2 separate regions of the Homo sapiens genome follow, and region 1 is linked to region 2. Evidence: promoter capture Hi-C in human tissues and cell types (Jung and others, 2019). All regions are on one chromosome and are shown on one strand. Each heading gives the region's core, a stretch centred on a gene start or on the middle of the fragment in contact. The rest is flanking DNA. Distances are from core to core; before and after follow the strand shown.

Region 1 (6,841 bases), core at 3,486-5,985, 42 kb after region 2:
CTAGCTTGTAACCCAAGGAAAATTACTTAATTTTTCAAGTATAAAATGGAAATGGGGCTTGGCATGGTAGCTCATTGTAAACCCAGCACTTTGGGAGGCTGAAGCAGGTGGATTTCTTGAGCTCGGGAGTTTAAAACCAGCCTGAGCAACACAGTGAGACTTCATCTGGGCATGGTACAAAATTAGCTGGGCATGGTAGTGCATGCCTGTAGTCCCAGCTACTCAGGGGACTGAGATGGGAGGATCACCTGAGCCCAGGGAGATGGAGGTTTCAGTGAGCTGTGATTGCACCACTGTACACCAGCCTGGGAGACAGAGTGAGACCCTGTCTCAAAACAAACACACAAAAAAAGAGAAGGAAATGATGATATAGCATTGACCTACCTTTGAAGGTCATGGTTGTATGGATGAAATAAGATAATATCTGCAAAGTATGAATCTTTACATAGCAAATACATTCCTGGCCGGGCGCAGTGGCTCATGCCTGTAATCCCAGCACTTTGGGAGGCTGAGGCAGGTGGATCACTTGAGGTCAGGAGTTCGAAACCAGCCTGGCCAACATGGTGAAACCCTGTCTCTTCTAAAAATACAAAAATTAGTCAGGCATGGTGGTGGGCACCTGTAATCCCAGCAATTCGGGAGGCTGAGGCAAGAGAATTGATTGAACCCAGGAGGCAGAGGATGCAGTGAGGCGAGATCGGACTACTGTATTCCAGCCTGGGTGACAGAGCGAGACTCCATCTCAAAAAATATATATATAAATAAATAAATAAACATAGTAAATACATGGCACACACATATCACAAGTACTGAGTAATATGGACATGTGCCATGGTTATTGTAGGTATTCCTGTTGTTATTATTATAGGTAAGGTTTTGGCATACAGCAAGCTTTGCCCTTCATTTGGCTGCAGCTGCTAACTTAAGGGAAGAGAGAGGCTCGATTGGGGCACTCAGGAAGTGGGCAGGTGGGGCTCTGGGTGCCCTACCCCTACTTCAGCCGCAGCAACTCAGCTTTCACCTGTCATGGGACTGGACTTTTGTGTAAGATTTCTTTTAAAGGATTCTTGGTTAGGCACAGTGGCTCATGCCTGTAGTCCCAGCACTTTGGGAGGCTGAGGTGGGACTGCTTGAGTCCAGGAGTGCAAGACCAGCTTGGGCAGCAAAGGGAGGCCCCCATCTCTACAAAAAATACAAAAATTAGCCAAGGCGTGGTGGCATGTGCCTGCAGTCCCAGCTACTACTTGGGAGGCTGAGGCAGGTGGATGAATCGATCCTGGGAGGTTGAGGCTGCAGTGAACCATAATTGCACCACTGCACTCTAGCATGGGTGACAGGGGGATAGTCTGTCTCAACAAATAAAAAATAAAACCGCCAGGCATGGTGGCTCACACCTATAATCCTAGTACTTTGGGAGGCCGAGGTGGACAGATCATTTGAGGTCAGGAGTTCGAGACCAGCCTGGCCAACATGGTGAAACCATGTCTCTACTAAAAATTAGCCGGGCGTGGTGGTAGGCGCCTGTAGTCCCAGGTACTCGGGAGGCTGAAGCAGGACAATCGCTTGAATCTGGGAGGAGGAGGTTGCAGTGAGCCGAGATTGCGCCACTGCACTCCAGTCTGGGTGACAGAGTGAGACTCCTTCTCAAAAAATAAATAAATAAATAAATAAATAAATAAATAAATAAATAAACGTAAAAAAAGGATTCCTTAAACCACCATTTTACAGTCTCACCTCAACAATTCCAAGCATTGTTTTCCTACTGTCAATGCCTCTGGTTATAAAACACTATCTTCCTCTAGGCTACCTCTTGTAGCCTGACAAGAAAAAGTGTTGAGATAACAGATCTAACTTTCTTTTAGTATTATGTTGACACTACCATGTTTTCAAATTACACTGACTCTAATGATCACGATCAATAAAGAGCTATTAGGTGTCTGTCTTTCCTCCAGCTCTGCTCTACAGAATGCAAACTCAAGTGCTAAAGAGAAGAGATGCCAGTTACCTTTTTGGCTTCTGCTAAAGCACTCAGTTTTGGTCTTGGTGGTGGTGACTCATCATAAAAGAGAACATCATCTCCTTCCAAGACACCTCGCCCCAGCTTGGGCGTCATTGTGGCCGGGGCTCCCTCCAGCCTGGGGAACTCGGATCCTGTCCGTGGAGGCTGAGCAGGGGGCTGTCTTGATGAAGATGGCACAGCTGGGCTCTCAACTTCACTTGAGCTCTGCAGAAATCTTTAAAGAACATACAGTCAAAATACGCAAACAGGGTTTACGAAAATAAAAACTCTAGAACTCAAAGTGGACTGGGAGGCGGCAGGCAGGCCACCAGTTGGGAGCTAGTTGTTAGCAAAATAATGTCCCCTTCTAGGCTGGTAATTCAAATTTGCACACGATAAGAACAATACTAGCTTTACTAACTCCTCCTTAATTGAGTTTTCTTTGAATAAGCTGTAATTGTCCTAACACTTTAGAACTGATAACTGTTTTTATCAATTGGCTGTCCAGTGGATGTCATCCACAAGGAACACAGCTGAAGACGCGGTGTGAACTGTATTCCCACCCCTACCGTCAGCTCTAGGGCCTGTAGGAACTCATTGCACCTCCCTGCATCTTTGTTTATGCTACTGGGAAGAGACAATACATGTGAGACATTTGGAAGTCATTAATGAAAAACACTGTAACTTGCAGCGATTATTTTACATCCCCTTTCTTTTTTTTGATTTTTTTGAGACAGAGTCTCGCTGTGTCACCCAGGCTGGAGTGCAGTGGCATGATCTTGGCTCACTGCAACCTCTGCCTCCCAGGTTCAAGTGATTCTCGTGCCTCAGCCTCCCAAGTGTTGGGATTATAGGCGTGAGCTATCATGCCTGGCAAAAAATAGTTTTAAGAGCTATTTTACTTTTGTTTTTGGAGACAGGGTCTTGCTTTGTCACCCAGACTAGAGTGCGTTGGCACGATTGCGGCTCGCTGCCACCTCTGCCTCCCAGGCTCAGGTGATCCTCCCACCTCAGCCTCCCGAGTAGCTGGGTCCACAGTGTGCACCACCATGCCCAGCTAATCTTTGTACTGTTTGTAGAGACAGGATTTCGCCATTTTGCTCAGGTTGGTCTCAAACTCCTGGGCTCAGGCGATCTGCCTGCCTCGGCCTCCCAAAGTGCTAGGATTACAGACATAAGCCACCAAGCCAGCCTCATAAGAGATATTTAAAAACAAATAACAAACCCCAGAAATCATCTAGTCCAAACTTCTCATTTGATCGATGAAGAAACTGAGGCCTAGGATCACATTACTCACAAGGGCCAGACTCAGGATTAGAGCCAGGCCATCCCAGAGCAGTACTCTTCCCAACCGCACAGCCACTCTTGCAAGCTCTAGGCTGTGTTTGCAAACTGCCTATCAAATCCTACGCAAAGATAAGGTTTCCTTGGCCAACAAAATTCTGAAAATTTTCATTACGCAATGCCTTCAAGCTGATGGGCATTCTCTATTTCCCACGAGGCCCCCAACTCCATACATATTTCTGTGTCCACGTATATAATTTATGTCATCTGTAGGCTCAAGATGAATAGCTCTATAGATATCCCACCGGCACTTCAAACTAATCTGCCTGAGACCAAACCCATTCTCTTACTTTCCCAAAGAATTTCCTCTTGTCTTATCATTGACTCCCTTTCATGGATGTGGTTGCCTTTCAGCAGCCCAGATTCGGGATGGCAAAAGGTTCAGCACCAGAGCACAACATGTGTGAGCCCAAAACTCGGCCCCACCATAAACTAGCTCTCTGATCTCCAGGCACACTATTAGTAAAACAAGGCTGAGAAGCCTCCGGAGGCTCAGATACTGTGTTTATGGAGTACGTATGAAGTGCCTGTGAACCGCAGCTCTCATTAGTATTCAGGTGACCTGAGTTCAGGAATCATTCATTTGTCCACCTACCCTATGCATTTCCACTTGATTTTTTTTTTTTTTAATTATTGGCTGAAGCCAAGTAACACATTTCCACTTGCTTTTGCCTCTAAAATGACTCTCCATTTTTAGTGCTTCAGTTTTGTCCTTTATCCAAAGAACTGTATTCTACTCACTGGCTCTGCCTGTCATAAAAAACTGAATTGCGGCAAAACCCAGAAATGGCAGCCAGGCAAATCCAGGCTTGCGTCCAGGAATTTGAGACCAGCTTGGGCAATATGGCAAAACCCAGTCTCTATAAAAAAATACAAAAATTAGCCAAGCATAGTGGCACATGCCTGTAGTCCCAACTACTTGGGAGGCCAAGGCAGGAGGATCATTTGAGCCTGGGACATGGAGGTTGCAGTGAGCCGACACTGCAGCATTGCACTTCAGCTGGGGTGACAGAGTGAAAACCCGTCTCAGAAAAAAAAAAGAGAGAGAGAGAGAAAATGACAGCCAGCATGTGAACCTACGCTCTCCCCCTTCACAAAAACCCTCTTTACATACACTTCACTCCTTTCCCTTTTCCATGGTGATAACGACTCTAACCTGTACCATTTGGTGTTGGGAGTCACCAGTGTAAGAAATAATACAGCCTTAAATGCTATTCAGGTTATGGGAAAACTATTTTAAACTTTCAGAGTTAAAACGCAGCCAACCGAAACCTGAAGTCACATTCTGGAAATCGATGAAGACGTTCTGAGGACGCCTGAGATGGATGACCCAAGCGGGGAATATTAAATCTGCTCCTCTTACCGCTTCTGTATTTCTTCTGATTTCCTTCTCCTCATCTCCAACATCCGCTGCTTCTGTTGCTTCAAGAGTGCTGAGGCCGAGATGGACTTGATGGCTGGTTTTGGGCTCCCCATAATCCCTGAAACAGAAGCCCAGACTGAGGGGGTGCCCTGGGAGGCTGAGGGAACACAGGGACACACGTGTGGCCATGCAGCTGATGGTACCTGAAGCTGTGGCTTTGGCTAAATGTTGTTTTAAGTTCCTGGCTCCACACGTCGGCAGGTCCATCAGTTCCTTGAACTCCTCAGAGCAAGACAGGCTCTTCTGGGGTATTCCTGTGCCAGGTCAACACCAGCTTTAGAGGATTCACATTCAGATGGTTTGAGGTCATATGACATACCACTTTCTAAACTCTGCACTTGTAATTTTAGTCATACGTAAACGAAGAAGACGGAATCCCAAGAGGAAAGAAAAGAATCCTTAACCTCTATCATCAGACTCATAGGATGGCAGGGTATCTCGACTATATTTTATTTCTAGTAATGATTAGAATATTAAGCCCTTAAATCTGGGGGTCATTCCATACCCTGTTTCTGGAATATCCGCTAAGGATAAGGGTCCCTGACCACAAGCCCAGGATGGGGGCTGCATTCTCTGATCAAGACTTGTTTTTATTTGTTTTTATTTTATTAAAAATTTTTTTGTTTTTATGACCAAGACCCATTTTAACAAAAGATAACCAATAAGCTTGGCCAGGAAGATAATACTGCTGATTCTAATGCTGGATGTAAAGAGTTGGACCCAGATACACCAAGAAATTTTAAAAAGCATACTAAGGTAAGACATAGCTAAAATCAATATGCTGTTTTTTTCCTTAAGGTCCTGCAAACCTGGCTTGATTCCTTTAGGTTAGACCGCGCCACTCACTAAGTACAGGTGATGACTGGATTCTTATTACTTAAGAGTATGAGCTGTATCCATTTTCAACCCTAAAGACTGCTTGCTTGCTTGCTTGCTTGCTTGCTTATTTATTTATTTTTGTGCATGAATAAGTTCTTAGTGGTGATTTCTGAGATTTTGGTGTACCCATCACCGGAGCAGTGTACCCTGTACCCAATGTGTAGTCTTTTATCCCTAAGGCTGCATAATTAAACTGGAGAAAGAAATTTCTTATGGAAAAACAAAGTTACCGAGTTTTTGCCGTGTTTCCTGGATGATCAAGTTTGTGCCCTTAACAACCAGATTACTCAGAGTGGTTTGAATCTTCTTCTTAGGAGCCACAGCTGCTGCACTGAAATGACAAGTCACCCCCAAAAGGAGAATCACTAAAGCCTCAATGCTCTGATGAGGTAAAGAAGGCATAGATATCATCATTTATTACACACACCGTCAAAGTTTCTCAAAACACCATCTAAGTAGGCTTTCTTAATGTTACGGCCCAATAGCATAACTGGTTTATGCACTGTGTCACAGAGGAAAAGCTAGAGGCAGCCTACAAATCCACTTGAGGCCATTCTGGAAGGAAATTTGGCAAAAGAAATAAAAAAAAAGCCAATGCTTTGATCCAGCAGTCTGGATATTTATCTTAAAATAATTAAGGATTATGCAAAAATTTAGGATATTAATGGCAGCTTTGTTTATAATGTCATACATTGGAAACACCATTAACGTTCACCCACAGGGAATTGTTTAAATGAATTAAGGCAGAGTATGCAAAAGAACACTATGTAGCCACTGAAAATACATGAGAAAAACATTAATTATTTTACACTGGAAAAAAAGTGGATACAAAGAATAGGAACAATATGATCTCATTTTATATTACTAAAAATGTACACATATGAAGAAACACAACACCTAGGAGTATATATACCAAGGAACTAACAGTTTGGGGTTTTTTTTTTGAGACAAGATCTCACTCTGTTGTCCAGCCTGGAGTACAGTGGAGCAATCCTGACTCACTGCAGCCTCAACTTCCCCAGGCTCAAGCAATTCTCCCATCTCAGCCTCCCAAACAGCTGGGACTACAGGCATGTGCCACCATGCCCAGCTAATTTTTTTTGCATTTTGTAGAGATGGGGTTTTGCCATGTCGCTCAGGCGGGTCTCAAATTCCTGGGCTTAAGCAATCCTCCTGCCTTGGCCTCCCGAAGTGCT
Region 2 (7,090 bases), core at 3,924-6,423:
GAGGTTAGGAAAAATGAGGAGTGACTGTTAATTTGTATGGGGTTTCTTTTTCAGGTGATAAAAATGTTCTAAAATCGATTGTGGTAACGGTTGCACAATTTTGTGAATATACTAAAAACCATTGAATGGTATACTTTATTTATTTTTTGAGAAAAAATAATAATCCTGGGAATACAGGTGCACACCACCGTGCCCGGCTAATTTTTGTATTTTTGTAGAGACGGGGTTTCACCATGTTGGCCAGGCTGGTTTTGAACTCCTGACCTCAGGTGATCCACCCGCCTCGGACTCCCACAGTGCTGGGATTACAGGGGTGAGTCACCGCGACTGGCCGAATGGTACACACTTTAAATGGGTGAATTGCATGGTATGTTGATTGTATCTCAAAAAGTCACAAAAATATACATTTATACATATACATACATTACAAAATGTAAAAACAGCTTCATGATACTCATCTATATGGGTCAAGGGCATGGTATTCAGGCAGACTTCAAAGAGGAGGTGATGGCTGAGATTAACTTGAAGGACAAGGGTTCCCAAAACCCTCCTGGAATGGAAAACATTGTCAAAAGGCCCAGAGAAGTGAGGCCTTCTTGAAGAACTGCAGGCAGCTCTGTATTCCAGCGCACAGGAGCCCGTGGAGGGGAGGAGGTAGGAGGGAGCTGGTCTTCATCTCTGTGAGACGGTGCAGTATGACAGTTATGACACAGACCCGGGGCCAGGCTACCCCGGGTTCAGTCTCAGCCCTGGACTTGCCCAGCTGCATGGCCTTGAGCAAGTCGCTCTACCTGTCTGTACCTTAATCCCCTCCTCTGTCACAAGGATGGAAGTGAGGATTAGAGTCAATGCACCCAAAGTCCTTGAATGTCACCTGGCACGTCCTGAGCATTGCATACATGTTAGCTAACGCGACACAATAATGAACCGTGGAGTGATTTTAAGCAGGGAACTGACCTGAAAGTTGTTCAGGAAGACCATCCTCCCAGCGACATGGAGGGTCTAAGCCTCAGCTTAGACAAGGCTGTCACCATCATCCGGGAGAGCAATGGTGTCTGAGAAAGGCAGGAGCAAGGGGACCGGCAAGAGCAGAGGGCATTTCAAAAGATGTAAGCAATAGAGTCACCAGGGTCTGAGGACTAAGGAGCTGGGCTGTGAGGGGCGAGGCTGTGCATTTCCGATGACTCCGGAGCTTCTAGTTTGAGTAGCTGGGGATGAACAGTGAGCTCATTCACAGAGATGGAGAAAACAGAAAAAAGAGAAATCTCAAAGGATATGTCTTTGGACAGATTCAGTGTACAGTACTTGTGTGTTTTTTTGCTTGTTTGTTTTTGAGACGGAGTCTCGCTCTGTCGCCCAGGCTGGAGTGCAGTGGCATGATCTTGGCTCACTGCAACCTCTGCCTCTCGGGTTCAAGTGATTCTCCTGCCTCAGCCTCTCAGGTAGCTAGGATTACAGGCACACGCCACCACGCAAGCTAATTTTTGTTTGTTTGTTTGTTTGTTTGTTTGTTTTAGTAGAGACAGGGTTTCACCATGTTGGCCAGGATGGTCTCGATCTCCTGACCTCGTGATCCACCTGCCTCGGCCTCCCAAAGTGCTGGGATTACAGGCATGAGCCACTGCTCCTGGCCACTTGTGGGGTTTAAATCAGGTCTTCTGACATCAAATCCAGCACTCTTCTCTTCTTCCCACAGCCACTAGAATTATGCCTTTGCCATGAGGTGAGGTGGCATGTTGTTCTTTGGGGTCTAATGTCACGAGGAGGCCACTTCTGCAGCACATCCAGCCCTGGTGGGCAGCCCGAGGGCAGGGGCAGCTGAAGGTGGAAACATATGGAAAATGAATGCCCATGGTCTAGACGGAGAGAAAGTTATAAGGCACTGACAGGTTGCGGAAACCAGCTATGGTCAGAACGCTGCTTGGAGCAGATCAGTGTAGCCACTAGGAATCTCAGGTAGGCTGGGCGCGGTGGCTCCCGCCTGTAATCCCAGCACTTCGGGAGGCCAAGGAGGGGGATTGCTTGAGGTCAGACATCAGATTACCCTGGACAACATGGTGAAACCCTGTCTCTACGAATTTTTTTTTTTTTTTTTTTTTTAGATGGAGTCTCACTCTGTAGCCCAAGCTGCAGTGCAGTGGCATGATCTCGGTTCACTGCAACTTCTGCCTCCGGGGCCCAAGCAATTCTCCTGCCTCAGCCTCCCAAGTAGCTGGGACTACAGGCATACACTACCACGCCCAGCTAATTTTTTGTATTTTAGTAGAGATGGGGTTTCACCATGTCGCCCAGGGTGGTCTCAAACTCCTGAGCTCAGGTGATCTGCCTGCCTCGGCCTCCCAAAGTGCTGAGATTATAGGCATGCGCCACCACGCCCAGCTGAAAAAATTTTAAAAATGATTTACCCAAGGCTGACTCGCCAGTGACGGGCACAGGTGCCTGGTGCATGGCAGCAGGTGTTCAATACAAGTTTGTGGCTGAAACAAATAGAATTAAAAAGGCACAAGTGGACTTAGGGTATGGAGGATGTCACGGGTTTGTCACATGTCCGCTTTCTCACTGGACGTCCCATCAAAATCGCTCAGCCCTGTGTCTGTCCCTCCCCTCTCCCAGTGACATCCAGTTCATTTGATAGATGAGCCCTGTGGCTCTGTCCTCATGCATTCGTTCAGCCATGTAGAGCCCTTGCTCCCATGTTCAGTGCAGGCCAGCCAGTATCCCAGGGGAGCCCACGTAGGGCCAGCCAGCATAGCCATCAACCCCATTTTCTTCCACTGGAAACCAACCCTTTATTTTGTTTACTCTGTCTCAGTTATTTTTCTGCCTTAACATTCTTTTCCTGGACGACGGTAAAGTCCATGAGGGATGTAAACATGAAAGTCTTTCTTTTCTTTTCTTTCTTTTTTTTTTTTTTAGATGGAGTTTCGCTCTTGTTGACCAGGCTGGAGTGCAATGGTGCGATCTCAGCTCACCGCAACCTCCACCTCCCGGGTTCAAGCAATTCTCATGTTTCAGCCTCCTGAATAGCTGGGATTACTGGTGCCCACCACCACGCCCAGCTAATTGTTGTATTTTCAGTAGAGACAAGGTTTCACCATGTTGGCCAGGCTGGTCTTAAACTCCTGACCTCAGGTGATCCACCTACTTTGGCCTCCCAAACTGCTGGGATTACAGGCATGAGCCACTGCACCCGGCCTTTTTTTATTTTTTTGAGACAAAGTCTCGCTCTGTCACCCAGGCCGGAGTGCAGTTGCGCAATCTCGGCTCACTGCAACCTCTGCCTCCTGGGTCCAAGCGATTCTCCTGCCTCAGCCTCTTGAGTAACTGGGATTACAGGTTCATGCCACCACGCCTGGGTAATTTTTGTATTTTTAGTAGAGATGGGGTTTTGCCATATTGGCCAAGCTGGTCTAGAACTCCTGGCCTCAACTGATCCACCTACCTCAGCCTCCCAAAGTGCTGAGATTACAGGCATGAGCCACTGCGCCCGACTGAAAGTCTTTCTTTTTTTAAATAGACATGGGGGTCTCGCTATGTTGCCCAGGCTTATCTCCAACCCCTGGCCTCAAGTGAGCCTCCTGCCTCGGCCTCCCAAAGGGCTGGGATTTCAGGCTTGAGCCACTTTGCCTAGCTAACATAAAAGTCTTGTAAGAGGGGAGCTTCAGGTAGGTATGGGCTGGGTTCTAGGTCTAGTGATGGTTCCCATTAGACAAACATTAAACGATGCCAGAAGGCTGACAGCAAAGAGTTGATGGTTCCTAACAAAGGCAACATTAGGAACACATCTCCAAGGGGACTGAGCTCTAATGGCCATGTTGGTGCTGATTTCATTAGTGGTCCCATTTCTGGGAACCCATTTCCTCCCCTACATGGAGTATGATGTGTGTCTTCCTAGAGATGCAGGATTAGCTGTGGAGCTTTTCAGATACCTGCCCTTCTCCCCCTCCGCTGTGGAAGGTGATTGAATTTGGCCTTGCTGTTTTTAAATTTTTTTTTTTTTTTTTTTTTTGAGATGGAGTCTCGCTCTGTTACCCAGGCTGTAGTGCAGTGGTGCAATCTCGGCTCACTGCAAGATCTGCCTCCCGGGTTCACGCCATTCTCCTGCCTCAGCCTCTCTGAGTAGCTGGGACTACAGGTGCCCGCCACCACGCCCGGCTAATTTTTTTTGTATTTTTAGTAGAGACGAGATTTCACCGTGGTCTCGATCTCCTGACCTCATGATCCGCCCACCTCTGCCTCCCAAAGTGCTGGGATTACAAGCGTGAGCCACCGTGCCCGGCCGCTGTTTTTAACTTTTAAATTTTTATTTTATTTTATTTTATATGTATTTTTTTTTTGGGACTGAGTCTTGCTCTGTCACCCCAGCTGGAGTATAGTGGCGCGGTCTCGGCTCACTGCAACCTCTGCCTCCCGGGTTCAAGTGATTCTCCTGCCTCAGCCTCCTGAGTAGCTGGGATTACAGACGCCCGCCACCATGCCCGGCTAATTTGTTTATTTTTATTTTTAATAGAGACAGGGTTTCACCGTGTTGGCCAGGCTGGTCTCGAACTCCTAACCTCAGGTGATCTGCCTGCCTCGGCCTCCCAAAGTGCAGGGGTTCCAGGCATGAGCCACCGCGGGAAGGCAATTGACTTTAAAGGGCTCTGGGACCCGCGGCCCCAGGAGTTTGTGTTTGGCTTGGCAGTGAGCATCAGCTGGAAGCAGTGCATCAGGTAAGGTGTTCTCTGGTCGCTGTCAGCATGACCCACACGTCTGTGTGTCACCCTGATGGGTATTCCAGTCATTATGAGCCCTTCTTGACTGACATTTAGATCAAAACTCCCCCATTGATCCTCTCTTCCTCCTTGCCCCCACCCATGCTTCAACCCTGAGGACCGGGGCCCTAACGTCCCTGGAGCAGGTGCCAGGACCTCCTTGACACAGGCCTTGGTCACTGGAACCCTGACTGTTAGGATGAGCCTTCCCAGCAGCAGATCCCCAGACACGGACATTGGAAAGGCCACTCCAAGACCGTCCCACCCAGGGCCCTAACTACAAGCTCTGCTTCTGGAGACATTTGCCAGGTGCCAAAAACATCTCCGTTGCTCCATCTAGGAGCAGCCAATGGAAAGGGCAGCCCAGCCCCCTCCTCCTCTCCCCCAGTGGTATCCCAGCCTCCTGCCTCTCTCTTCCCTCCCCCGCCTTCCTTCCTCTCGCCTGGGCTGCCTGCCTCAGAAGTGGGGACCCAAAGGGTGCAGGACGCCTGGTCTGCCTTGTGGGTCCTGGACGGAGCCCCTACCTCTGCAAAGATGACTTGGAGACAGGCCGTCCTGCTGTCTTGCTTCTCCGCCGTGGTGCTCCTGTCTAGTGAGTACAGGAGGGTCAAGGTGGAGGGTGTTAGTTACATGGTAAGGGAGACTTACCATGCACAGGTAAGGCTGCTCAGGTGATGCAGGTAGAAAGGAGTATGCTTATTGTTAACATGTGTGTATGTGTGTGTCGTGTGCATGTAGGACACAATGCAATACAGAAAAATAATAATAATAATAAAAAACAGTAAAGAAAGAAACAAAATAGAAAAAAAACCCAAGCCAGCTTGCTTGGTGGGTTCCTGGGGAGATTGGCTCTGCAGCTGGTACGTGAGAAACCACGGGCCCCCTGCCAGGCCCTGGCAGGACGCTTAGCCTGGAAAGAGAGATGGGGACTCAGCTCAGGGTCTGGGCTCCCCTCTGATGCTGCAGCCTCACTCTGTGCCCTTGTCCTGCAGTGCTGAGAGAGGGAACCAGTGTATCTGTGGGCACCATGCAGATGGCGGGAGAAGAGGCGAGTGAAGGTGAGTGCAGGGGCCACCCACGGGGCAGGGCAGGTGCAGCCAGCGAAGCAGCAGCCCCAGCACCCCCACACTGCTGGTGACAGGCCTCTCCCGGGTTTCAGATGCAAAACAGAAGATTTTCATGCAGGAATCAGATGCCTCGAATTTCCTCAAGAGGCGCGGCAAGCGGTCCCCCAAGTCCAGAGATGAGGTCAATGGTAAGGATGCTGGAGGGACCCCATCCCGCGTCCATCACCACCTCTGCTCACACCCCCCGGCTCCTCCTCTCCCACAGTCAGCCGGGCAGCAGGATGCAGCTGGGCACGAAGGGCTCACCCCAGGGTATCAAAGGGACTGCAGCTCTGAATGAGAAATTACACCCTATTTCCTGACTGTAGGTCGTATATTGGATTGAATACTTTGTCAGGGTTAGGAGGCCCCACCTCTGCAAAGATGACTTGGAGACAGGTCCTCTTGTCCTGCTTCTTGGCCATGATGCTACATTAAACACACCTAACAGGGATAAGATGCATTGGATTTCAGAAAGGTGTAGGGAGGGAAATCTATATTCTGGTCTGGAGGCGACCCACACATCAGTGTGTGCTTTGCGGGTACTGGTCCAGCACACCTTCTGTATAAGAGCAACAGCATCGCACATGGGGAAGGCACAGGACACTGGGTGCTGAGAAATGTGGGTCTGGGGACAGCTGTGCTGCTAAGTGGCCTTGGCTACTTCCTCCCTCTGGTCCTAATTTCCTTATTTATAAGCCTCTGAAAGAGCTGTGTTCAGCCAGCAGAGGTTTTTTTTTTTTTAAGTTTTCATTTTCAACACATTGGGGTGAGCCTGTCTGTTGCACAGCCTGCTGTAGGGCCTGTGGAGCCCCGGCTTCAGGGTCCTCATGCCCTTCACCTGCCAACCCCTGAGGGCATTTGAGTTTCTACTCCTGAACCTGCTTCTTCCAAGATGCTGAGCTCAGACAGTATCTCCCGAGTCTCTGGCTTGAGTCTTTCCTCCTCGTGCCTGTGGGTGAATGAACTCTTTGTATTCTTCAGGGCACTCAGCAAGGTGACTTGCTTGGTAAAAATAACAGGACTGTTTTCAAATGATGGGAAGAACAGAGATAGAAATGCTTGGAGATGAAATTTCTTTTTTTAAAAAAAATTGAATAAGTATAACCGTGCTAGGAAAACCTCCAGGCCTCATACAACTGGAGATTTAAAAGTTGGCCAATGTCAAGAAGCACTGAAAGGTTGGGAGGGGGGCTGGACTGTTTTTGATTAAAATGGGAGAAGCAATCT

Evidence for each region. The method cuts DNA at HindIII sites, captures the fragments that hold promoters and counts their contacts. A contact is called where the count stands out against the background at its distance.
Region 1: a contact is called between a fragment that was not itself captured here and the fragment with the promoter of UCMA in region 2, in 2 of the 25 tissues and cell types used here (ovary and stomach).

The regions. Positions count from the first base shown.
Region 1 is chr10:13,190,434-13,197,274 of GRCh38, reverse strand. MCM10 (minichromosome maintenance 10 replication initiation factor) reads right to left here. Exons shown (of 20, transcript NM_018518.5): 11 at 5,876-5,976; 12 at 4,910-5,020; 13 at 4,707-4,824; 14 at 2,006-2,234. Among named protein-coding and RNA genes, the nearest start is that of MCM10, 32 kb to the right of the region's middle. The HindIII fragment of the contact is 3,146 bases long and covers 3,163-6,308 here.
Region 2 is chr10:13,232,457-13,239,546 of GRCh38, reverse strand. It overlaps UCMA (upper zone of growth plate and cartilage matrix associated), which reads left to right and starts at 5,173. Exons shown (of 5, transcript NM_145314.3): 1 at 5,173-5,346; 2 at 5,747-5,812; 3 at 5,914-6,009. The coding sequence starts at 5,289. RefSeq lists an enhancer at 4,560-5,470. The HindIII fragment of the contact is 17,086 bases long and covers 1-7,090 here.